Regions from separate parts of the Homo sapiens genome. Here region 2 is linked to region 1. The links are contacts of gene promoters, found by promoter capture Hi-C in blood cells and fetal thymus (Javierre and others, 2016). All regions are on one chromosome and are shown on one strand. The core of a region is centred on a gene start or on the middle of the fragment in contact, and the rest is flanking DNA. Distances in the headings are between cores, read along the strand shown. Region 1 holds the start of CPNE5 (copine 5). Region 2 holds the start of RNF8 (ring finger protein 8).

Region 1 (3,914 bases), core at 124-2,623:
GACTGCAGGAGAGGTGTCCCAACTCTCCCCTCGCTCGCCAGGCACACAGCACGCGCCTACTCGGTGCTGGCTGCATAGAAGCCCAGGGAGCTCGGGCCGATCTCCCAGTCTGGTTGCCACCAGACTGGGTGGCAGGAGCTTCTAGACCTGGAGGCTGGCTCAGTCGTGTGGTCACGACGGGCGGGGGAGTGGAAGGGCGCTGGCGCGTGGTTTCGGCAGCCGACTTGGCGAGGCCGCGGCTGGCGGGAACCACGGATGGGGGAGGCGCCCATGCACCGACCCCACCTGGGCCACTGGGAAACCGAGGTAGTCCCTCCTGGCACTGGGGTCGCCCCCACACACCTCCCCAGAAGGAGATGTAGGGTCTGTTTCTGAACTGAGACCCGCCCCCGAGTAGGGCGCACACTCAGCAGAGACCCTCCACACCCAAGCCCCTGGGAGGGGATCTTTTTTGCACACCTCCCTCCCACTTATGCCCCCTCTCAACCCTGCATAGACCTTTCTCAAAAAGGCGCCCGTTGGTTCCCATAACCCTCCCCCTCCCCCAGGATGGAGACCCCTGATGGGAGATAGGGGTGGTGAGAGGGGGCGGGCGCAAATGAAGATGCGCGCGACCAGGACCACCTCTTGCTGTCACCCGCCACGTCCCCAGCATCTGGACCGCGTCCCCCGGCCCGCCACGCGCGCACACACACACACACGCGCACACACACACGCTCACACTCACCCTGCGCGCAGACCCCGCCCGCGGCCCCGCCCCGGCCCCTGCGGGCGCCCCCTCTGGCGTTCCCGGGCGGCGGGAGGCTGCGGCTTCGGGCAGATTTGATTTTCCCGCAGCCCGGGCGCCCCGGAGCCGAAGCCCGAGCCGAGGAGGTGGCGCTCGCAGCCGCGTCTCAGCCCCGTCGCCGCCGGCGCCAAGACCCAGGGAGAGGCGGCGCAGCCCGGGCGCTCGGGCTCCGCGCTGCCGGCGCCCCGCCACCCCCGCCGCCAGCGCCCCATCCGGCGCCTCCCGCTCCTCACGCCCCTCTCCCTGTCTTCTGCATCCCCTCTACCTCTGCCCACAGACGCGCGTCCCTCTCCTGGTGCCCCTCTCCACGACTCCGCGTTTCCCTCCCGGTGCCCTCTCCCCGAGCCCCTCTCCCCGCGCCCCTCTCTGCCTTCCCCGCTGTGCCCCCGCTCCCTGGGCTCCTTGCCCTTCCCCACTGGGCCCCTAGCCTCCTCGCGGCGTCACCCGAGCCCCCTCCTCGATCCGCGGCCCCCGCTCCCTCCGCCCTCTTCCCTCTCTCACTTCCCACGCCCCCTCTTCGCGCTCCTCTCTCCTCCCCTTGCCGCCCAGCCCAGGCTCTGGAGTTGGGGGAGAGCCCAGGGCTCCAGTCGCTCCGGAGGAGGCGTGAATCGCGCAGGGATTGACTAATTTGGGGTGGGGGGTGCGGTGGGCGATGGAGCAGCCTGAGGACATGGCGTCGCTGAGCGAGTTCGACTCCTTGGCGGGCAGCATCCCGGCCACCAAGGTGGAGATCACCGTGTCCTGCAGGTGAGCCTCCCGCTGGCCGGGTCCCCTTGCCCCGGCCCTGGACGCAGAGCCCCGCGGCCCCTGCCGCTTCGATCCTAAACCTCCGCGCGCCCCCTTCCCAGAGTGTCCTGGTCTCCAGGACTGCGCCCCTGCCGATCTGCCAAGAGCCCCTGTCCTGTCCAGCTGCGGGTGGCGACGGCAGAATAGGAAGCCAGGCTGGGGTCATATCCCAGAAAGTTTGCGCTCCAGGCTGTTGCATCGAGGAGATATGAAGACACAGGAACAGGGGGTCCAGGCACCCAAGTGGGGAGAGGGAGTTGGTAAAAGGCTGTACTACGGTCTCTGCTCAGGCTATCTCTGATCACCCCATCCCCAAATCACGAAGTGAGTGATTTGCCCCCATCCCTCCCAGGCTCGTCCACCCTCTCCCTTCTGTGCCCTCCTCTCTTCTCTCTTTGCCCCTTCTTTGCCCCAGCATCCTGATCCTCCCCTCACCAGTCTCCCCCACCCCACTGTCCTAGACTCTAGGATTTTAAAGCCTTCCTTCATCTCTATCAACAACGAAATCGACTCCTGGAAAAGGATCAGATTGACTCATTCATACTAAGGTGTGGATACATGATAACAACTTAAAGTGGCACCATTAAAAAAATAACTTGGGTCAAAAATCTTAAGCCAAAGGAATAGAACACTGATTGTGAAACTGTAGAGTCCAACAGAGGAGGAGGGGGAATATTTTTGTGGGCTACCACGCCCAAATCTTCACTCATGTCACACAGGGTTTGGGGGTAACTTCTCTGTCTAAGAGCTGGGTCGACCCCAGGTTCTCCTAGCTAGGGGAAGGCTGCCCCTGGCAGTAAGAGGGTATGGGTGGCAAAGGGGGATTTTTCCCTAGTTCAGTCTCTCTGTGGCTGGCCTAGGATCATGTGCTGCCACGCAAGCATCACCCACTTTGAGGTTCCCCCACAGAGGCCATGCCCCCTGCCCCAGATCACCGACAGCATTTCTGGAGCCCTGGCTGTGCCCTTGTTCGAAATCACCCATCTCATCCTCTTCCAGGTTGCTCCTTGGTCAGACCCTCCATGAGAGGTAACCTTGTTGCCCCCCAGTCCTGTATTACAAAGTTGTGGCATTGATGAGGTGTAGGTAGAGCTGGAGAGTCTGGGCAGGGGCGTGAAGGAGGGAAGGACTCAGTGTGACTTTCTCTTGAAGACTTGGGGATAAGTGGCAGTGAAGGCTAGTCTGGTTGAACGTAGCTTCCCCCCTAAGCCAGGCCCTCTGGGGGCTCCTGTGATAGCTCCCAGGTCCCATACACCATGCCGTCAGGATCATCTCCCAACGCCATTTGCATCTTGTCATTACTCTGCTGGGAGATTCCTGATGGCCCATTAGCTCCAGTCTCACCTCCTCAGCCATCAAAAGCAGCACGGCCTCCCCACCCTTCTCCTGCACGCACATCCCTGCGCCTGGCACTCCCTCCCAGCCTTCAATCATGCCTGTCATCTTCAGTTGTCTTGGGATCCTTCCCACCTCCAAGCCTCTGAACAGCCCATTCCCCATCCAGATTTCACTCTTCCTTTATCTCCCCAAGTTCATGATCCCCCCACTCCTGAAAAGCCTGGCCTCACGCTCCCCACTTTCAGGCATCCTCTCACCCATGAGACACACAGCTCAAATCATTGTCTTCTGTGTCCCGTGGGCCCTAGGTACTCAGCCTGGGCCACAGGGTCACTCACATACTGAGGATGAAACCTCTTGAGACGTCTCAGGTGTGCAGACGTCATCCCTCCCCTCTCAAAGCAACTGTGTAAGCATTTGAGGGCAGGGATTCCCACCCTGAGTCAGACCCATGCACCCTCTACTCCAGTGGAGAGGAAAGGAGATGGAGGGCAGATAGTGTGGCTTTGGAGTCAGATACCTTGAAACAGAATCTCTGCTTCACCACTTGGGGCAAATTTTAAGCCTCAGTTTCCCCCACCTGTCAGGTACAAACAATAAGCAGCATGTACTCATGGAGAAACCTTGTTCACCAAGGTAGCTCATGTGCTTAGAGCAGTGCCTGGCACTTGCCAAATACTGTTGGAGGAATTAACTTGCAGGAGTGGAGGAGCATGAAGCACCTAGCAAGCTACTTTGCACTTGCTTGGCACACAGTAGGTGCTCAATAAGTAGCTACAATGATCACCGGAAGGCGGTAGCACCTGGCCCCTCCTGTTTGCTTTCTGGAAGTAAAGATGTCCAAAGGACTCAAACCTCTTGCATAAGAGGCCTTCCTGGGGGATGTGGTTCTGGGGCTGACCCTGGGTCAATACCCTTTTGGGGGACATGATCCATGAGCTGAGGAAGGCCCTGACCTGGGGCCTGCTCATGTTCTCCAGAAAGCCAGAGGTGGGGGGAAGTG
Region 2 (3,959 bases), core at 438-2,937, 510 kb before region 1:
AAGTAACCCTTTATAACACTCCCTAATCTAGCAATTAAATTTGTGCCTAGACATGAATTCCTCCTCTGACTTGAAGAACTACTGCTCTGGGAAGGAACTAAATAATCCAAATCTTAGCACTTGATCATACAGCCCATATGGATGTTCTTTATACGATGACTGCTTCATTGTATAAATCCTCTCTCCCCACTCAAGCCTTAAACTCTTCGAGCGCAGAAATTTTATTTGTCCTCATTGTACACCAAACAATGTTAAATACTCAGTAAATACCTGGCAGACTGAATTGAGGCAGTACGGCTTATAGGAAAAATCTACCTGAACACACATGAGACTCAAAATACTTCTTGAATTTACATCATGACCAACCATCCACTTTTACTGCAAAGAGAACTTTTCATACAGATTATTTCCAAAACCCAAATGGTTCCCAGTCATCACAAGCTTGTCCCTGACCCAGTTCTCCTTCTCAACCTGATTGCAATCTAACTCCCTCCTCCCTTCCCTCGTCTTTTCAAGATGCACCACGCTGGTGCATCTTGAACCGTGCCAGGAACGGTACCTCATCTTTCCCCTTAAAATATTTTTCATTTGCAACTGCATTAATAAAGACGACAGGCAGCCTCTGGAGAGAACTCTGAATACCTGCCCGACCCACCTCAGGGAGTGCCACTCGGCCGTACCGAGCCTCACAGGAGAAATGTGGCCCAGCCCAAGCCGCCCATGTTCCTCAGAGTTGGGAAGGAGGAAGACATTTCTACGTGAAAGTTTGATTGCTTTAAGGGACAAAACCCAAAATTTGCAATCGTTTTCAAAACAAACTCGAGAAAGTTCAGGCGCCGGGCCCTGCCTCGGCTTCCCGGCAGCTCGCGGCCCCCGCCACCGTTCCCCGACCTGGCACCGCGGGGCTCTGTGCGCCCTAAACGGGATCTGGCCAGCCCCCGCCCTCCCCTCCTCGACACCCCCGCATCTCCTCACGTTCCCTGCGCGTCCCTCTCCTCCCAGTCCCCGGCCCAGCTACCCGCTGACCCAGGCCTCTCTGGACGGGGCCCGCTTCTCGCCCCACAGGCCGCGGGTCAGGGCCTCCGTCCTCGCCCCAACCCTTGTGGCCCCCCCGGGCTCCCCAGAGCCGAACTCTCTTTTCTTCCTTTCTCCCACTCGGCCCCTATTTCTCCCCCAAACACCTCCCACCGCAGACCCTTCAGCCGCTCGCGCCAGAACCGCTTTCTCCCTTCTCTCCCCAGGAATCCACCCCCCCCACAGACACTTCGCTCCTCTTCCTGATGCCCGCCTCCTCTCTGCCATTCATTCAGCCCAGCAAGACACCTTCCTCCCTCCCCGGAGCCCCGCTCCCTCCAGCCCCTGCCCTCCGCTCCACAGGACCCCTTCCCCCGTACCTCGCACCCATCTTCCAGCAGCAGCCACCCGGCGCTCATCCCCACCCGCCGCAGGCACCAGCTCCGGCCACCGGCGCGGTCTCCTGTGACGAAGAAGCCGGGCTCCCCCATCGCCTACTCGACCCCGGGGGCGGTCAGCACCGAGCGAGACCCTGACCTAGGTTCTGGCTGCCTCTGTGCATCCCCTCAGCTTCCATATCTAAATAACAGACAGAAGCAATCGCCACACGCTCGCGATCGCTGCGAAAGCAGGCTCCGCTCGCCCGCCCTCGGCCAGGAAGCAGGAGCACTACGCCTGCGCAAGAGGACGGCGGCCGCCCTGGAGCAAAGAGGGTGGGTTGGGAGCCAATCCGGCCCTGGGCGGGGCGGGCGCGATTCGAGAGGTCTCCTCGCCTCACACCTTCCCTCGCCGCCTCCAGAACCATCACCCCAGTCCTAGCCGCCCCAGACTGGAACCTCTTCTCACCTTTCCTCTTTTTAAAAAAGTCATGTGAAACTATAGCCCACTTTTAAACAACTTTAAACTTTCCATCGGATTTAAGTCTGCCTAGTCTGTTGCTAAATAGTCTCTATTTTGCACGACCTACTTATATTACCGAAGTAAAAAATAAATTACACTAGGCAAATCTACAAAGACAAAGAGCACAGTTACCTGGGGCGAGGTGTGGGAGCGGGTATTGAATGCAGATGGGCTTGAAAAAATTGGAGGAAAGCGGTAATAGAAATGTTCTAAAAGTGGATTGTGGTGACAATTGTACAACTGTATAAGTTTATTAAAAAGTCATGGAAGTGTGGCCGGACGCAGTGGCTCACGCCTGTAATCCCAGCACTTTGGGAGGTCGAGACGCGCGGATCACTTGAGTTCAGGAGTTGTGACCAACCTGGCCACATGGGGAGACACCGTATCTACAAAAAAAAAAAAAAAAAAAGGAGGAAGGGAGGGAGAGAAAGGAAAAAAGAAAAAAAAGAAAAATTAGCTAGGTGTGGTGGTGCACACCTGTAGTCCGGCTACTTGGGAGGCTGAGGTGGGAGGATCACCTGACCCCGGGAGGCAGAGGTTGCAGTGAGCCGACATGGCGCCACTGCATCCCAGCCTGGGCGACAGAGTGAGACCCTGTAAAGTGAAGAAAGTGTAAACTTCCAGTGGGTGAATTTTATGGCATGTAAATTATACTCAATAAAGCTGTTAATTTTATTATTATTATTACTGATTACAGACAGGGTCTCGCCCTGTCACCCAGGCTGGAGTGCAGCCTGGAGTGGTGCGATCTCAGCTCACTGCAACCTCCGCCTCCCGGGTTCAAGAGATTCTCCTGCCTCAGCCTCCAGAGTAGCTGGGATTACAGGCACGCGCCACCACGCCCGGCTAATTTTTATATTTTTTGGTAGATACCGGGTTTCGCCGTGTCTCCTGGATTCAAGTGATCCAACCGCCTCAGCCTCCCAAAGTGCTGAGATTACAAGCATGAGCCCCCGAGCCCGGCCAATTAAAAAATTGTTTTTAAACTCAGCCTCTCCTTTGGATTTTCCATATAGTGTGATAGCTGCTGCCTGCAGTGAGTACATCCAATGGTTGAGCCCCTTTTGTCTTTTCAGTTTTCCAACACCCAGTTAACAATTTCTTTCTTCTTTCTTTCCTTCCTTCCTTCTCTTTCTTTCTTTTCTTTTTTCTTTCTCTTTTCTTCTTTCTCTCTCTTTCTTTCTCTCCTTCCTTCCTTCCTTCCTCCCTTCTTCCTCTCTTTTTTTTTTTTTTTTGCACAAGGGGAAAGAAGGAAAACAATTTTCCTAAATAAAATTCTGTCAAAAAACCAGCCGGGCTGGGCATGGTGGCTCATGCCTGTAATCTCAGCACTTTTGAGAGGCCGAGGCAGGCGGATCACCTAAGGTTGGGAGTTCAAGACCAGCCTGACCAACATGGAGAAACACCGTCTCTACTAAAAATACAAAGTTAGCCCAGCGTGGTGGCGTGTGCCTGTAATCCCAGCCACTCAGGAGGCTGAGCCAGGAGACTCGCTTGAACCCAGGAGGCAGAGGTGGCGGTGAGCCGAGATCTCGCCATTGCACTCCAGCCTGGACAACAAGAGTGAAACTCCATCAAAACAACAACAACAAAAAAAACAAAAACAAAAACAAAAAACACACACACAGCCAAGTGTGGCGGCTCACGCCTGTAATCCCAGCACTTTGGGAGGCCGAGGCAGGTGGATCACCTGAGGTCAGGGGTTCCAGACCAGCCTGGCCAACATGGTGAAACCCTGTCTCTAGTAAAAATACAAAAATGATCTGGGCATGGTGGTGAGCACCTGTAATCCCAGCTACCAGGGAGGCTGAGGTGGGAGGATCCCTTGAGCCTGGGAGGCAGAAGTTGCAGTGAGCTGAGATCACACCACTGTACTCTAGCCTGGGTGACTGAGCAACACTCTGTCTCAAAAACAAATACACAAACAAAACAACAAGAAAAGAAAATACATACACTAAATGAATTACACAGTGTACAATAGTAAATAGCTAACATTTACTGAGTGCTAAGTGCCAGGTACTAGGCGAAGCACCCTACATACTTTA

What was found. The method cuts DNA at HindIII sites, captures the fragments that hold promoters and counts their contacts. A CHiCAGO score of 5 or more calls a contact.
Region 2: the fragment with the promoter of RNF8 here is called in contact with the fragment with the promoter of CPNE5 in region 1 in 4 of 17 cell types (non-activated CD4 T cells, erythroblasts, M1 macrophages and 1 more); the score reaches 7.9 in non-activated CD4 T cells.

Annotation. Positions count from the first base shown.
Region 1 is chr6:36,836,903-36,840,816 of GRCh38, reverse strand. CPNE5 (copine 5) reads left to right here and starts at 1,373. Exons shown (of 21, transcript NM_020939.2): 1 at 1,373-1,534. The coding sequence starts at 1,440. RefSeq lists an enhancer at 1-15 and a silencer at 700-909. The HindIII fragment of the contact is 11,867 bases long and covers 1-3,914 here.
Region 2 is chr6:37,351,711-37,355,669 of GRCh38, reverse strand. It overlaps RNF8 (ring finger protein 8), which reads right to left and starts at 1,687. Exons shown (of 8, transcript NM_003958.4): 1 at 1,395-1,687. The coding sequence starts at 1,505. RefSeq lists an enhancer at 1,385-1,434 and a silencer at 1,735-1,834. The HindIII fragment of the contact is 12,469 bases long and covers 444-3,959 here.